Regions from separate parts of the Homo sapiens genome. Here regions 1, 2 and 4 are each linked to region 3. The links are contacts of gene promoters, found by promoter capture Hi-C in human tissues and cell types (Jung and others, 2019). All regions are on one chromosome and are shown on one strand. Each heading gives the region's core, a stretch centred on a gene start or on the middle of the fragment in contact. The rest is flanking DNA. Distances are from core to core; before and after follow the strand shown. Region 1 overlaps LOC105375199 (a long non-coding RNA gene). Region 2 overlaps LINC03007 (long intergenic non-protein coding RNA 3007). Region 3 holds the start of HOXA5 (homeobox A5). Region 4 has its middle 37 kb from the start of MIR148A.

What was found. The method cuts DNA at HindIII sites, captures the fragments that hold promoters and counts their contacts. A contact is called where the count stands out against the background at its distance.
Region 1: a contact is called between a fragment that was not itself captured here and the fragment with the promoter of HOXA5 in region 3, in 1 of the 25 tissues and cell types used here (spleen).
Region 2: a contact is called between a fragment that was not itself captured here and the fragment with the promoter of HOXA5 in region 3, in 1 of the 25 tissues and cell types used here (dorsolateral prefrontal cortex).
Region 4: a contact is called between a fragment that was not itself captured here and the fragment with the promoter of HOXA5 in region 3, in 1 of the 25 tissues and cell types used here (spleen).

What each region holds. Positions count from the first base shown.
Region 1 is chr7:26,059,122-26,061,929 of GRCh38, reverse strand. LOC105375199 (a long non-coding RNA gene) reads left to right here. Exons shown (of 7, transcript XR_927114.3): 3 at 233-387. Among named protein-coding and RNA genes, the nearest start is that of NFE2L3, 92 kb to the left of the region's middle. The HindIII fragment of the contact is 5,839 bases long and covers 1-2,808 here.
Region 2 is chr7:25,752,608-25,755,423 of GRCh38, reverse strand. All of the region lies in intron 1 of LINC03007 (long intergenic non-protein coding RNA 3007), which reads left to right. Among named protein-coding and RNA genes, the nearest start is that of LINC03007, 36 kb to the left of the region's middle. RefSeq lists an enhancer at 762-2,816. The HindIII fragment of the contact is 5,038 bases long and covers 1-2,816 here.
Region 3 is chr7:27,142,126-27,144,944 of GRCh38, reverse strand. HOXA5 (homeobox A5) reads left to right here and starts at 1,264. Exons shown (of 2, transcript NM_019102.4): 1 at 1,264-1,899. The coding sequence starts at 1,338. All of the region lies in intron 1 of HOXA3 (homeobox A3), which reads left to right. The region is part of intron 1 of HOXA-AS3 (HOXA cluster antisense RNA 3); the gene reads right to left. The HindIII fragment of the contact is 16,485 bases long and covers 1-2,819 here.
Region 4 is chr7:25,911,679-25,914,378 of GRCh38, reverse strand. No RefSeq gene overlaps it. Among named protein-coding and RNA genes, the nearest start is that of MIR148A, 37 kb to the left of the region's middle. The HindIII fragment of the contact is 6,078 bases long and covers 1-2,700 here.

The sequences.
Region 1 (2,808 bases), core at 297-2,796, 1.1 Mb after region 3:
ATGAGGAGTTTGAAATGATGGCCATCGGGTCCATTCAGGTCTCTTCCTCCTTCAGCCAGCAGGGGGCTCTAGGCTCTAGAATTCAGAGGCGTAGACAGGCACCTTCACAGTGGTTTACCTGAAATCCCGCCTCCTAAAGCCAGAAAAATCCGCCTCCTTTTTCCCCTCCAAGTAGGATTGTGCCAACCCAGGCAAATATTGAACCTTGTGTTAACAAAGTTTTTTTTTATAGGTGGTCCTTCAAGGATTTCTTGGTTTTGGGTTTTGAAATGTGTAAGGTTTGCTGCTAGCAACTCCACATTTTTTTATTCACTCACAAAGACACATGGTCATAAATAAAATGCATGGAACCAGCGAGACAATAGCACAGCAGTAATGTCATTTTATGTAAGTACTTAAACACCGCAAATTAAACGGCTGACTGAATGAAGCCCATCAATTATATTTTGTGTTTACATCCTTTTGAAAGGAATACATCTCTCTCTGTTTTTGTTTGTTTTATGTTTGTTTTGTTCTGACACCTTCTCAATTACCTGGCACTATAATATTTCTTGTTGCGGACAGATGTCAGAAATACATTGGTAAATATAACATCTTCTTTTGGAAAATAAAACTCCCACTCCCTACTTAAAATAGGTGGTTTTAAAATTTGTATCAACTTAGAAATTGAAAAATCCCTGCTGGAAGAAATCGCTAGTGCATTTGAATGGACTTATTGTCTCTGGTTCATTTCCTTTAGAGTAGATTCTGGCAGGAGTGCCAGACTTATTGCCAAGACAAAAAGAACTATATATTACAGCTCCTGTCCTGCCAACACTAAGTAAAGCTAGTTTGGCAACACTTAACCATTGTTGAGAAGGCCCAAGTATAGTCATAAAAACATTAATATGGCTTATATTCTGTTACTTATGTCTGTTTCTGCACAAATGGTCCTCAAATTTGTACACAGAAAATTTGCCTCCCTCATCAGGCAGCAGTTTCCTGGAAAAACCACAGTAACCTTCTGTACATGAACCAGAGTAGATGGATTCCTGTAGAGGAAGGAGCAAAGAGGAGCCCATGGGAAAGGACGGCTCACCTCTGTGGAGAAGGCTGCCTATCAGTGTTTGTAACAAATAGACCCCTCACTGCATTAGTTTCCAAACAGGGAAATCTATTTCAGTCCAGACACTTTTATTTCTTTCTGGAAAAGAAATAATTGAAATTGCCAACTCTAGGCAGGAGAGAATGCATTGTATGGCTCATAGGGACTGAAGAAGCAGATTAGAAAAGGTGTGTGCTGAGTCTGGTGACCTAACTCAGCAGCTTTTGGCTAAAGGGGTTCCTTGGAATGCAGGGCTTCCTAATTGTGTTAAAATAAAATGATACGCTTAGTCAATAGTTAATGTTTGCCCAGTGTGGGCAGACTTCCTTACAAGGTAGTGTGTGTGGGTAACAATAACATCAACAGAATAGACAGAAGTCCTGCCCTCAGAGAGCTTATGAAACTGTGCATATATTAGGTTGATGCAAAAGTAATTGCGGTTTTTGCCTTTTTTTTAAAAAAAAAAGAATGGCAAAAACCGCAATTACTTTTGCATCAACCTAATAGAATATCACACACTTGAAAGAGGCTTAAGGTCATTATGAAGCATGATACTAATGACTGTGACCCCAGACTCAACTTCTTCAGGAAGGCGTAAATCTTGATCCTGTTTTTTGTTTTGTTTTGTTTTTTTTTTTTTTTTTGAAACAGAGTCTCACTCTGTCACCCAGGCTGGAGTTCAGTGGTAAAATCTCAGCTCAATGCAACCTCTGCCTCCCAGGTTGAAGCCACTCTTGTGCCTCAGCCTCTTGAGTAGCTGTGATTACAGGTGTGCACCACCACACCCAGCTAATTTTTGTATTTTTAGTAGAGATGGGGTTTCACCATTTTGGACAGGCTGGTTTCGAACTCCTGACCTCAGGTGATCTGCCCTCCAAGGCCTCTCAAAATGCTGGGATCACAGGCATGCGCCACCACATCTGGCCCTCTTGATCCTGTTTTTAAAAACTGAAATTGGGCTGAAGCTTGGGTATATCTGGTCTCTAGAAAGCATACCAGAATTCTGTGTATTCCGAAGTATTTAGGAACATGGCAGCCCTCCTGAGCACAAAGGCACTGCTCCCCAAGTGAGATCCGGAGGGGCGAGTGTACGTTTGGTCTCTGTATTTTAATAGGTATTAAACAGCCATTCACTCATTTTCCAAGGTGTTTACTGAGTACTTAGTATATACGAGCCAAAATGCGAGGGCCCTCGAGTTACTTCTGATTGAAAAGAGGATATGACGTGTACATAAACTGCTAAAATTGAATGGACACAGGGATGAGGGTCTCGAGGGAGGCATGTATAAATGGTGAGGAGTTTGGGGAGGGTGGATGACTCATAGATGAGAAGCCTGGGGAGGTTGTCAACGGCGGGTGCATCTTTTTTTTTTGAGGTGGAGTCTCGCTCTGTCACCCAGGCTGGAGTGCAGCGGTACGATCTCAGCTTACTGCAACCTCTGCCTCTCGGGTTCAAGCGATTCTCCTGCCTCAGCCTCCCAAGTAGCTGGGATTACAGGCTCCCGCCACCACGCCCAGCTAATTTTCATATTTTTAGTAGAGACAGGGTTTCACTGTGTTGGCCAGGCTGGTCTCGAACTCCTGACCTCGTGATCTGTCTGCCTTGGCCCCTCAAAGTGCTGGGATTACAAGTGTGAGCCACTGCTCCTGGCCAGCAGGTGCTTCTTATAGGACAAATAGGACTTGACCGCTTTGGAGATGGGCATGAGCCTGGGCCAAGTCCA
Region 2 (2,816 bases), core at 199-2,698, 1.4 Mb after region 3:
TTTGGAAGGCCTGAAGTGTGAGGATCTGAAGTCTTTGTGGAAGATACAAAGGGAATGGATGGGGTTACCAGACATTGGATGGTGACACGGAGCCCCAGGATGGGAATCTGTGCCACCACTCAGCATCCAGGAGCTCCAAAGCATCTGCTTATTTGGGGCTACTCCAGGTGGTGTTTTCAAGATAATTCATCCTGAGTGAAATGTTCCCAATAGCCTTTGATCCAGCGACTAAAGTCTCTTTTTGGTGATGCCCCAGGAGGTGAGAGCACTTTGTGTATATCCCTGGTGGCCTGCCCAATTCCTTAGGTTGGTTTCTTCTCTGCTTCAGTAATGAAAATGTGCTGCAATAACCAAAGACCTGCAAAGCAATGTGGAAATATTCACTCATTAGTGAACTATCAGTGCCTCCCATGACTGTTGCCATTTCTATCCATGCAGATGGCAAAGGGCTGGCTTCTGAGTGTGTCTTCCTGAGGCTGCAGAGCAGGAAGGTGACAATCACATCAACCTCTCTCTCCCTCGCATCATCCTGTCCATTTGCTCCTCTCTGCATATACTCCCAGTGCCAAAAATCTAGTTAATTCTGAATTTCCCCAGGCAGTGTCTTCATTTAGGTAGTGCATATCCAAGGCCCAGCATCTGGGTGTCTAAAATCAGTATATTGCCCTGTAGACAGATTTTAGCCACCCCAGATGGAGTTTATGCTCAGGAAGTGTTGGACCTTAGCAGAGCTTTCAGACTTAAGGAAGAAAAAAGATCGACTTTACCACCTTGGCAGCATGGAGACAGCTTTATGTACATGTTCTTACAGGGTTTGGCTAAACATTTTGTACGGTTCGGGTGGAACATGTGAAGAACTGTAATAGAAGCAGAAGCGTTGCAACACGATGGCCCGACCATGGGGGCTTGGCAGCAACTTGCTCCAGCTCTCAGTTTGGTACAAAGTGCTATCATTACCATTTGGAAGCAGCTCCCTGTAATGTGAAAACACTTCCAGGGAAATGCCAGGAATCACAAACACAGCCTTTACAGAATGCAGAGACAACCACTATCTTTGCAGGTGGCCATTGGTGGCCCGGATCTGCCTCCCCAAGTCTTAGGCAGAATCTGGAGTGGACAGGAGGGAGTTGAGGGCAGGGAGGGGGTAAAGATATTTTCCCCAGTCCAGCCAGAAAGCTCGGGTAAACGGGCCCTTCCTTTGTACTCTTGGGTCTTCTGTGTGATCAGCTGAGGCTGAGGAATCTTTGGGGCAAACTCAAGGCAGCCGTGTAAGTCAGGCCTTGGGGAAAGCGGGGAGCAAGGCAGAAAAACAGAGCAGTGGGAAGTGGTTGCTTGGTGCTGAGTTTGGCTTAAAGTGTTGAGCTGTGCTTGAGCCTTCAGGCTCCAAGCAAAACTCCAGGGGAATGAAACCCACAGCAACCCAAACAAGGTTAAGGCTGAGCAGGAGGCCGTCTGTGGGGCCACACTGCTCTTCACACGCGGCCTGTGCAGGCCTTTCGGTGGATGGAGACCTTTCACTGCAAATCGGGTTTCTTTGGACTCATCTGAGCCAGAGTCGTTGAATGTGTTCAGTCACGACTCGGTTTTTCCCAGAAGCAGAACCCCTTTCTCACACCCAAGACCATGTCCTTGGCTGGCAAGCTATTATTTACCTCGTAGCCGAGCCAGGCAAGGGAGCCGGGGGTTGTTTTTGTGAAGAAATTCACACTGGGGATGGGTTGTAAAAGGAAAATATGAACAGAGGTTTGGAGTCGAGACTCTGAGACTCTGTTGGGGTGAACTCCCCCCTCCATAAGAGTCCTAGAAAAACAGAGGCGATGTCGTCATAGCAGCTGCTGATGGCCTGACAGACAGTTTCCGCAGCGCTACATGAGGCCCTTTGGTGTCTCTGTCAGGAGATTGGCAGCTGAATGACACCAATGAGGCCGGGCCTGTATTCCCTCTGGGAATGCCGCCCTAATTGATAGACAGAAGGCAAAGAGGAGGATTGTTTTTGAACCTGAAAAGAAACCCCCTTTTTTTCTCCCGAAAGCTCATGCCCCCACTCTCCACAGCTCTATTTTCCCCTCCCTCCGACACTTTTTTTGGAAGGTGTTTTGTTCCAGGGCAGTTACAGAGCTTAATGGAACTGAATGACTTTTACCCTTCACAATCTGTCAGTCAAAGCCCGACTCCAGGACTGTTAAATAAAGTCCTTTCAGAGGCAGACAGGAGAGGAATGTGTCAGTCAGGCAACAGACCCTGTTGTGTTTTAATCTGTCAGAGGGCTGATGAGGAGAGCAGCGGGCCCCAGGCAGGGCACATTCCCAGCAGCCCGAAGAGGCCTTGACAAACCCAGGTGTGGAGCCAGAAAGTCCCCCCACTCCAGCATTCTTGAGGTGTGGACTCAGAGCCCCCAGGCACTCGGGTTTGCAATCAACTGTGAGATGTTTGGGCAAATTTTCAGCACAGGTTTCATACTAAGCATTTTAAACATAAAACCAACCACTAAGTGCTGGGTATCCGTACGAGGCATGGCTTTCAAATTAATACACTGCTTAGCTGAAAATACAGCAGACAGTAATGTTCTTGCTGAGGGGCCTTCAGGTAGACTCCAATTCCAAACCAATTTTGTCTAGCCACTTTCATTTCTTTCTAATACTTTCCCTTCACATTATATGACAATCCATTAATCTTGCCCATTAACTTAAAATTGCTGGGCAGTTTTTTTGCAGAGTTCTCAACAGTTGCTTTTGTTCACTATAGATTCAGAGCGTTACATAAAAAATGTCCACCATTAGACATACTAATGACCAATTCCTTATGTTTGGGTGACA
Region 3 (2,819 bases), core at 15-2,514:
GCTCCCAGCCTCCGATAGCGCCCGCGTCGCCGCCACAGCAGCGTTCAGGACCCAACGAGGGGCCCAGGGCCATGGGAGCCGCCAGAGTCCTGGCTTCCAGACGTGCCAGGGGCGCCTGCAACGCCGGGCCTCCAGCGGGGAGACTCCACTTGCCTCTCAGCTATATTTGTGATTTACTTGAGTCTTTCGGAGCCGTGGAAAATAACTACAGAGATACTAGGCACTGCCAAGGAATGCTTCCATTATCGCCCTCATTTTACTCCTGGAGGTCTAAGCAAGACCCCAGTAACCCGCCCCACGGATCCCCAGACCCCAGGCAGCCTCTGTGGCTGCAGGGAGCCTGGGCCCACTCGCTGGGTTCAAGGAGAACCCTCCGACTTGGGGCCCGGCTGGCTCGAGGAACCGGACCCTGTGATGAAGATTTTCCAGGCTGGATACGTAAGCAAATCAAATCGCAAACTAATGACACGAAAACCATATTCACACGAAAGAAAAATCGACTACGGTTATAAAAGTGTATGGAATTTGACCTCGCCTTGGAGAAACACTACACAAAAGCTATCTTTAATAGACGCCTGTCATTTAAGAGCGGCAGGGACACTGTCCCTCATGCGCTCGCAAAAACAGAGCCGTAATTGTAGCTGCTGCTGCTGCGGGCAGGATTTATTTCTCCAATTGGCTAAATGGCTTTCCCCCTTCCCCGAAGGTGATATCTGTATTTTCAAAATTCAGAGCTGCTGGCAGGACGGTCAGTACCGACCCCAACCTCGACACAAAAATAAGAGGGGCTGCAAAACGGGGGAAATAAAGTTGTTGTAAATAAAATGCAAGTCACCACCTCCCCCCAATCCTCTGCATCCTCGCCGGGCGCGCGATCGGCAGCTGACGGCCTAACAATTGGTACATCCTAATGGAACTGCGAGGGAAATGCAATAATTTTGCCATAATGGGCTGTAACCTCAATTCGACCCCGGCCCTTGCAGCCCCCGGTCGGAAGCTGGGCGATGAGCCCTGCCTCCAGCGGGTGGCGCTCGAGTCCGGCTGAACGGCGGCAACTGGCGGCGGGCACGCGCCCGGGGCGCGCGCGCCACCCCCCTCGCCTCCACCCAACTCCCCTATTAGTGCACGAGTTTACCTCTAGAGGTCATCAGGCAGGATTTACGACTGGACAACAAAAGCACGTGATTCGAAGTCGTACCCCATATTTGGGTGCCTACGTAGGAGGGAACCAAGTACATGTCCCAGTCATTTCCATAATTCATCATAAATTGTGCAAGGGTGCTATAGACGCACAAACGACCGCGAGCCACAAATCAAGCACACATATCAAAAAACAAATGAGCTCTTATTTTGTAAACTCATTTTGCGGTCGCTATCCAAATGGCCCGGACTACCAGTTGCATAATTATGGAGATCATAGTTCCGTGAGCGAGCAATTCAGGGACTCGGCGAGCATGCACTCCGGCAGGTACGGCTACGGCTACAATGGCATGGATCTCAGCGTCGGCCGCTCGGGCTCCGGCCACTTTGGCTCCGGAGAGCGCGCCCGCAGCTACGCTGCCAGCGCCAGCGCGGCGCCCGCCGAGCCCAGGTACAGCCAGCCGGCCACGTCCACGCACTCTCCTCAGCCCGATCCGCTGCCCTGCTCCGCCGTGGCCCCCTCGCCCGGCAGCGACAGCCACCACGGCGGGAAAAACTCCCTAAGCAACTCCAGCGGCGCCTCGGCCGACGCCGGCAGCACCCACATCAGCAGCAGAGAGGGGGTTGGCACGGCGTCCGGAGCCGAGGAGGACGCCCCTGCCAGCAGCGAGCAGGCGAGTGCGCAGAGCGAGCCGAGCCCGGCGCCGCCCGCCCAACCCCAGATCTACCCCTGGATGCGCAAGCTGCACATAAGTCATGGTAAAGCCAGCCTTTTTCTAAATCCACGCGACCGCGGGGACGCGGCTCTCGGTCCCCCCTCTCTTCTCTGCCGCCCTCTCCCAGTCTCTCTTGGTCTCATTTCTCCCAGCCCTGCGGAGCTCTCCTTGCCGTTCTCCCTCCCCTGCCTTCCTCCTTCCTCCTCTTCTTTGCGAGCACCCTGCGCTCACAAATAGTGGGGGAAATGGGCGTTCTCTGGGACAGTTTAGACGTTGGAAGGGGGAGGAAGCAAAAAACCCCTCTGGAACCCCACGCCTTGGGACGCGCTCCCGGGTCAGGCCAGCCGAGCAAGGCGCAGAGAGGTAGAGGATGGCTGTAGCAGCCGTGAATCGGGCTTGTCACGGCGGATAATTTATGAGGAGGGCTACGCTGGGGAAACAGCGTTACTAATTACAGCCCCCGAAAAGGGGCTTGGGGGAAAGAATCGAGGCGAGAGCCTGCAGGATTCTGAATTTTGGGGGCAGGAGGGAGAGAGAAGGAAAGGGAAGAAAAAGAAAACAGGCTCCCCAACCCTGCAGGCTGGAAACGGGAGGCGGCTCTCGGGGCTGGAACTTTGAGGGAGGGTGACCCGAAGGCCACTTGGGCGCTCAGGAAAGGGCCTTGCTTCCTGGGTTTCTGTGCGGTGGGCAGCCTGGGAGGGCTGTGCCTCCCGATCGGGGCGCCCGGGGCAGGGCGGAGGGGGCAGGAGAGGGGCCAGGGAAAGCCGGAGTCCGCCGGGACACGGCCCCAGCCTCAGATGGGCAGATTGTTCCCAGGGTCCAAATCGTATTGTTTTCTTTCTAGAAAGGAAGAGAGAAGGAAATTCGGGAGGGGTGTGCGGGCTGGTAGGCAGAACTTGTTGAGCTTTTCGCCTGGGTTCCCTGCTCATGACCCAAGCTTGTCCCCCTGGCGGACTTTGGAAG
Region 4 (2,700 bases), core at 96-2,595, 1.2 Mb after region 3:
AGGCTGTGTCCGACGGAAGGGATTTATTCTGCAGCTGAAATGTCTAAGAGTTATTATTTTTCCCACGGAGTATATTTATTTCTTTTTGACAGTGTTTGAGGTTATGGACTCTATTTCTAGCTGACAAAAGAAAACAGCATACAATAAAATCTGTGACATTAGACTGGGTAAAACCAAATGCACTCATTTGCTTTCAGACAAGGACACCCGTTTCAATAACTGAAAGAATTGAGAATGTTTAATGTTCTGAGAACATGCTGAGCTGAATTTAAGTGAAAGATGATCCCTGGTTCTTTCATTCATGCTTTAAAAATAAACTACGTAATTAAATGGCTACAGATACTTCTTTTGTGGGGAGGAAAACAGCAGTCAGATTCTTTGCAATCATGCCAACAGGGCAGTAGGTTTCCTAACCCTTTGGCAAAATTGAGAATCAATACCAATAAGAAAAAAAATAATAACAAAAGGGGAAATCTCACAGGAGTCACAGGCGATAAAAGATTTACAATGTGAATAAAACATTACAGGTCAGCATTAAAACAGATGATACGTCTCTCTGACAAGACAAAGCAGCCAGCCTCTAACCAGAGGTGCAAAACCGCATCCAGGGGCCAATGAGAAAGCCCCAGACCAGCCACTTCCCTTCCCCTCAAGGAAAGGAGCCTCCTTCTCGGGGAGACATTCACTCCACAAGCTGCATTCACAGTTTGACAGTTCACCTTGTTTGAAAGTAAAATTCTCTGGAAGTACAAATCTTGCCCATGCATAATTTCTAGGACTAGTATATTTGGAATTTGTGAACAAAGAGACCAGACTTGCTTTTGAAAAGGAAAAGATGCTTATCTGTTGGTTCATTTTGTAGGTGAATAAGACTTTTAAAAATACAACCTGGAGAAATTATGAAGTCAAAAAAGGTCCATAAAGACAGGCTGAATTCTGACTAAAAGGCAGTGGAAGCCATCGCCAACTGGAGGGGTTTTATGAACATGGTGGAGGGGAACTCTCGGAGGGTGATCATTATTCAGGGCTCATTAGTTCTTGCTGAGTGGACTCTCAATCATGGGAATTTCCATATTCCAAAGCCAAATTCTTGAAAAGAAAACTCAGAAAACGATATTTTGGTGTCCAGCCATTATCAAGGGAATACATTTGACAAATATAAATCAAATTTTATTATTTTCTGCCAAATCATGGAGAGTAGGTCTATATGCTCACCACTCGAAAGAATGCAGTTCACCTCCAATCAGAGACAGCATAACTGGATGCCCAGGCAGCCTGATCTCACATCCCTTAAAGTTGCCAGTGGACACACAGCCATGGCCAACAGTCTCAGTTTGGCAATATGTCTTGTCATGATAAATTAAATATCTGCTTCAGTAACTAGACTCTATACTGGAAACTTGCACACCGATTTTATAACACTTTACATTTAAAATTTAGAGCACTTTATCTTATTTATTATTATTATTATTATTATTTTGAGACAAGGTCTCACTCTGTCACCCAGGCTGGCGTGCAGTGGCATCATCACAGGTCGCTGTAGCCTAGACCTCCTGGGCTCAGGTGATTCTCTCACCTCAGCCTCCCAAGTAGCTGGGACCACAGTGCACACCACCATGCCCGGCTAATTTTTGTATTTTTTGTAGAGATGGGTTTTCACCATGTTGCCCAGGCTGGTCTTGAACTCCTAGGCTCAAGCCATCTCCCCGCCTCGGCCTCCCAAAGTGCTGGGATTATAAGCATGAGCCACCACGCCTGGCCTAGAGCCTTTTAAAAATGGTTCATAGAAGCAAATTTTTGTGTTTTTTTGTGTGTGTGTGTTAACATGAACTACAGAGTTTATCACAGACGATTAGTAACAATATCTAATTCCTGTTCCTGTTTCTCAACTGGCCATCTGGCTTTTCTTAATCTTTTGAAGTTCACTTACTATTGCTAACGATTAATGAGCACATACAAATGTACTAGACACTGGGCTAGGCCCTTTATTTACTTTGTTTTTTTTGCATTTCATCCTCATAGCATCCTTATGAGGTAGAAGCTGTCTACCTTAGTGATAAGAAAATCAGGGCTTGGAAAATTTGGCCAAGGCCACCCACTGCTACCACCAAAATCCAGCCAAGGCAGTTTGAAGCCAGTCAGAGCTCTTAACAGGCACTCCCTGTGGCCTCCCTCCGAGTGCAGGCAATGTAGACTTGTGGCAATTTCTCTCACCTTATTGCTCAGCTAATACCTCTACCCTGAAACTGCCAATATTTTTAGTCCTGATGAATTTCATCCAATTTTCTTCCTTTTCATTTTGCCTCACCCATTTATTTCCCGTTTCTAGAATTGTTTGTCTTGCATGATATGTAGTTATCTAGAAACGCTTGTTTTCTCAGTGTTAAATGAACTCATATCATTGTTTGACTTATAATCTGTGTTGTTCTAGCTTGCCTGGCTTTAGTAATACAGTTTTTACTTCAATTTACAGGCAACCTGCGGAGGAAATAGCTTGGCCTCTGTTATTTACATATTGATGTGTGAGATCCACAAATTATAATGGTGGCGTCTGATAATGCAGTGTCTGTACTGCCCTTTTCTTTATTCTTTTTGAAATGGTGACACAAACCTTTATCACCTGGTTTGGTCTTTTCCTGGAGCAACTTGCTATTTCTAGGAAGATCTAAAATGCAGGGTTTCTTCTTATTTTTTTTTTCT